Regions from separate parts of the Homo sapiens genome. Here region 2 is linked to region 1. The links are contacts of gene promoters, found by promoter capture Hi-C in human tissues and cell types (Jung and others, 2019). All regions are on one chromosome and are shown on one strand. Each heading gives the region's core, a stretch centred on a gene start or on the middle of the fragment in contact. The rest is flanking DNA. Distances are from core to core; before and after follow the strand shown.

Region 1 (2,700 bases), core at 190-2,689:
CAAGAAATTGTACATTCTCTTGCCTTGTTTTATTTATTTTATTTTTATGTATTTATTTATTTATGTGCCAGTCTTCTCCTTGCTGCCTCTGAGGTTCGGTCGGGAGGGGAGGGCAGCGGCAACCCAGGAGGCAGCAGTCCGGGCTCCCTCCCTCCCTCTCCCGCGTGCCCCCGGCCGCCTCCTCCCCCGGCCCTAGCTCCTGCCCTTCGGCGGCGGCGGCGGCGGCGGCGCGGGAGGGCAAGCGCGAGGAGCCGGCACAAAAGGCAGCGGGACAAACACCCACCTCTGGCCGGAACAAAAGGCGGCAGTGCCGGCCGCGTCTCCCGTCCTTCCCGGTCCCACGGCTCTCCCCGTCGCCGCGGCCCCTCTCCCGACTCCGCGGACTCAGGAGCGCCGGGGGCCCCTTTCCACAGTGCCACTTTCTCACTATTGTGGGGATGACTACTTTCCTCCCGCTGCACACTTGACCGTGAGCGCGCTGGTGTCCAAAAGCCAGTCTCACCTCTTTTCTCCCCGGGAATCGTTTTTTAGACTTGTACTCACTCCCTCCCTACCCCCCCATTTTCTTACGGTGAGTGGGAAGCAACCTCCCTTTCCCCACCAGCTCCCACCCCCAGGTTTGCATGTGAGTTGTTCGCAACCTTAGCATTGTTCATTATTTTGCAAAACTGGCGGGGCGGGGGGGGAGTGGAATCATTGCATTCCTTTTCGAAAAGAGAAATAAAGCGGCGGAAAGGAGGAAAGAGGAGGAGTCAAATTTTTGTAAAATTAAATAAAATTAAAAGGTGCGTGCTGTCTCAAAAGTGCATACACGGCAATGGTTCCAGATGGGATGAGGGTTTTTTCCCCCTTTATCTCTTTTACCTCGACTCTCGGAGGTTTTTCTCGTGAAAAATTTAAAAATGCATGCACACACCCCTCTCTCCCCCTCGCTTTTGCTTCTAGTCCTGCGCGCTCTCGTGATTATTAATAATTATTATTACTATTATTGGGTTACTTACGCGAGAATTCCCGTTTGCTTAAGTGCTGGGGTTTGCCTTGCTTGCGGCGAGACATGGTGGGCTGCGGGGCGGGCGGCGGCGGCGGCGGCGGCGGCGGCGGGCGGACGACGGCTCGGTTCACATCGGGAGAGCCGGGTTAGAAAGAAGGAGACTCCAGAGAAAATATCTTCATCAGTGCCTTTTGACATCCAAAATAAATTAGAAATAATACAAAGATGGCGCAGGGAAGATGAATTGTGGGAGAGCCGTCATGGCTTTTTTTTAAGCAAAAAAAAAAAAAAAAAAAAAAAAAAAAAGAGGGAGAGAGAGAGAAGAGAGATAGAGGGAGAGAGAGAGAGAGAGATGAAAAAAATGGCAAAAGCCCCCCTGAGCTGCAAGTTCAAGTGCGGACGTGACGTCCCTGCGAACTTGAACGTCAGGAGTCTGGATGGACAGAGACACACAAAACATGGGCAGGGCGAGCAGGAGAGAAGGGGAGGAGGGAAGGGGAAGCTCACACCAATGGACACACATCAGGGGCTGGACATGAAAAAGAGACCAGGACAAGCCAATGGCCAGTGCGGGGAGGGGGAGGTGCGGGGCGGGGGGCTCCGCGGACGCCAGACGCGGCCCCCGGGGGAGGGGCGGGCCGAGGGGAGGGGGCGCTGGGGCCGCGGGCTCACCAGTGGCCGCAGCGAGCGCCGCGGCGGTGGCGTGGCCGGGAGAGAAGAAAGGGGTGGCAGGGGTGGGAGGAAAGGGTGGGGGGGAGCAAGACGTGCGCCCTGCTCCCCCCCACACACGCGGACTCTAAAATGAAAGATTATTCAAAAAAGAAAAAAATAGAGCGAGAGTGCACCGGGAGGCTGCAGCCCCGGGCTGGGGAAGCGCGGGCGGAGGGAAGCCAGGTAGAGTTGCTCCCGGACACCCTCCTCCGTACGCACACCCACTTCCCCTCCCCGCCGCCGCCGCGCTCGCTCCCCGCGTGTGGACGCCAGGGGCCGAAGTAAAAGCCCCGAGCCCGCGGCTGCGCTCGGGAAACTTTGCCCGAGGAGAGGACAGCAAAGAAAAATCACCCGAAGTTGAGAGCTGAGCCTCCAAGTTACAGCTCCGCAGCGGGCGAGGGGAGGTGGGAGGGAGCGCACGGCAACGCGGAATCCAGCCTAAGTTTGGAGGGCTGCGGGTCCGGAAGGGCAGCGCCCAAGTCTCCAGGAGCCCGCGCGGCCTGGAAAGAGGGGACCGGGGAGAGGCAGGCGGCGCAGGCCGGGGCCCGAGGGCGCCCCCAAGGCCGAGCCAGGGACCGGGAATCTGAGCGCCCCGCCAAGCGACTGGGTCTGAATGCAACTGAAAGCGCCGAGTCCCCGGCTCCTAAGGGTCGCAGAAAGAGAGCCCGAGGAATAAAGAACGAGGAGCCAGAGTCTGGCCCCCGGAGGGGAGCGCCGGGGGCCTGGGCAAGAGAGGCACCGAGGCGTCCACCTCTCTGAGAGGCCGAGGACAAAGCGCGGGCAGTCCCGGGAGTCCCAGTCCCTGGGAATGTGCTCACGGCGCCGCGGGAGGTCCCCGAGCCGGGTCCCTGGGAGGGACACACCCCCTCCCACTCCAGAGCAACTGCAAAAGCACAGAGGGATGGGAAGAAAATGTTTCTTACGGGCAGAGCACAACTGTTCCTGTGCTGTTACCCAGGGAAAGAGAAAATGGGAATGGAGAGAGAGCGACAGGCTCG
Region 2 (2,700 bases), core at 17-2,516, 1.5 Mb before region 1:
CTTCAGAAAGATAAAAAAGTAGTATATTGATATACTTGTATATTGCTATCTACTAGTATAGCTTCAGTTGGTGTATGAGTATAGAACTATTGGGTTGTTCTTTATGTGATTACTCCTTCCCAGTTTTAGTAAAGTATTCCAATTTGAGGGAAATTCTTTCATTTGTCAATAAAATAAAAAGAGGTAAGTTTTAAAATCTGTATAGTTCTTCCTTCATGCTAGTTGCCTCTCTTTTTGATATTTCTTCTATAAAAATCTTTTCTTACATTCAGTTTTCATTGTATAGATCATGAAGGAACCATAGTGATTATCAAAGATCAGCCGATAAGTTCAAGGCAGAGTTCCACCTTTCCCCATGAAGCCCTTCCAGACTTGTTTACATGTAACACCCTTGAAGGCAAGACTCATGTCTATGCTATCTTTGCTGCTATTTGGCACGTATTAGGTGTAAGGGCAATTAGACCATATCAATTAATGATCAGTAAGAATGGATAAAGTAGATGTTTTTGTGAGCCTCTCAAAGAAGATGTATAGAATATTTTGGAAATGGGCCCAATTTGTTTCTAAAGGAAAATTTACTTTCAAATTAAAAAAAAAAAATCACTCAAATGAGATTTTGGGGGATTTCATATGATTAACTCTTTACATTATCTTGTGGTAATTATACAGAAATCTGTATTTATGTAAACACAGTAAATGCATCATAACACTAGAATAAGTATACAAATACTGCATGTCAAATTAGGTTATAATCACTTTCAAGGGACGTGATTTCCTAGCTAAACAGATTCGTTTACATTTTGCAAAATAAAAAATAAGTGAAAATAACTATATAAAATCAGGCTTACAGCTGGACAGATCTTCTTGGCAATGGTCCAGACACTGAGTAGGGAAAAGCCCCTCCAGCTGAGGAACGTTCAGGACGCTCAGGACGACTTTGCAGGCGCGGCCGGGAGAGAGGCCATTTTTGGGGTTGCCTTGACTGTGCACCCTGTTCCTGGCTACCTATGGGGAGATAAGCTGCATTCACATATCAGATGAGACTCTTTTTGTGAGAGGTCTGGGGTGGGATGTGGGAAGTGGAGTGAAAACCTGCTTAGTAGGGGAGGAAAAAAACAAGCAATCCAACACTTCACCTTTAGGTAATAAACATAATAGAAAAAGTCAGGAATTCTCTAACTAAAAAGCAGACAGTGGAAGCTAGCATCGGACTCACTGAATTTTAGAATCAGGGTCTGTGTACCATGGATTATCTGGCCCTGCCCTTGTCACTGGATGAGAAGATTCTGGCTATAGGGCAAGAAGCAGTGCTTGGACCGAGATCCAGAATGTTACCCTCAAATCTGAAGCTTATTTATGAGATAAATAAAGCTCATATTTTCAAGAGAGATAATTATTTTAAAACTTCTCATTTCAATGTGTACCTTAAAAAAATAAATACATTTTGGGCCAGGTGCGATGGTTCATGCCTGTAATCCCAGCACTTTGGGAGGCCGAGGTGGGCAGATCATGAGGTCAGTTTGAGACCAGCCTGGCCAACATAGTGAAACTCCGTCTCTACTAAAAATAAAAATAAAAAAATTAGCTGGGCATAGTGGCACGTACCTGTAGTCCCAGCTACTTAGGAGGCTGAAGCAGGAGAATCGCTTGAACCCATGAGGCAGAGGTTGTGGTGAGCCCAAATTGCGCCACTGCACTCCAGCCTGGGCAACAGAGCAAGACTCCATCTCAAAAAACCAATCAACCAACCAACCAACAAAAAACATTTCACATCTCCCTGACGTAGCCAACATTTTCTCCAACATTCTCTTATTTTGATGGCAGAAGGGCATAACTGTAAATCTCAGTTTTTATATGGTATTGTATAATATAGTGGCATCCTTTGCGGCCAGTTGATTGTGAAGAGCAGTTTGCCTTTACTTAGCTTCCATGAACATTAGCTTTAAATGCTCATTGACATTAATGAGAGCCAGTTTGCTAAATCTGTGTCTCCTTCATGTTCATTTGCTACTTAGTTTTGTTGATTCCAAGAAGTCACTAATTTTTTTAAATCATAGATTCTGATTTCGAGGTAGCTTCATTTTTCTAGTGTTGAGTAAAATGTGTGTGTGTGTGTGCTTTAGTTTAATTAATACTAATTTTTATTCAAAATATATTTGTTGAGCACTTACTCTCTGCTGTGGCTGGGCATACATTACTTTCTTTCCACAGTCCGTTGGTTGAATTGTCCTGAGCAGGGGTTGACAAATGATGGCCTGTGAGCCAAATCTACCCCACTGCCTGTTTTTGTAAATAAAGCTTTATCAGAACATAGTCACACTCATTTGTTTGCACATCATCTGTAGCTGTTTTTGCACACATGGCAGGGTTGAGTAGCTGTGATGGAAATTATATGGACCAAAAGACAAAAGTATTTGCTATCTGGCCTGCAACAAAAATATTTGCCAATTTGTGGCCCTGAGTATGAACCTTTAATTACCTAGCTGGTTTGATAAAAGAGCTAAATAAAATAGATGACACCAAACTGCAGCTACCTGTTCACTACTCACATTCAAGTGTCTGTGGTCACAAGAAATAATCATGTCACTGGATGATACAGAGAGAACTAGGAAAATTCTAGTCTTCAGAAAAATAGAAAGCTGTTCACATTTGTTTAAACAATTTCCAAATCCTGTTCCTAGAACCATCCCTAACCTGTCC

The links. Contacts are between HindIII fragments. The study calls those that stand out against the background at their distance.
Region 2: a fragment that was not itself captured here is called in contact with the fragment with the promoter of BCL11A in region 1 in 1 of the 25 tissues and cell types used here (dorsolateral prefrontal cortex).

What each region holds. Positions count from the first base shown.
Region 1 is chr2:60,552,215-60,554,914 of GRCh38, forward strand. It overlaps BCL11A (BCL11 transcription factor A), which reads right to left and starts at 1,440. Exons shown (of 4, transcript NM_022893.4): 1 at 1,002-1,440. The coding sequence starts at 1,056. RefSeq lists silencers at 151-510, 1,920-2,009 and an enhancer at 2,700. The HindIII fragment of the contact is 9,532 bases long and covers 1-2,700 here.
Region 2 is chr2:59,061,454-59,064,153 of GRCh38, forward strand. It overlaps LINC01122 (long intergenic non-protein coding RNA 1122), which reads left to right. Exons shown (of 14, transcript NR_033873.1): 14 at 1-2,313. Among named protein-coding and RNA genes, the nearest start is that of LINC01793, 150 kb to the right of the region's middle. The HindIII fragment of the contact is 3,651 bases long and covers 1-2,700 here.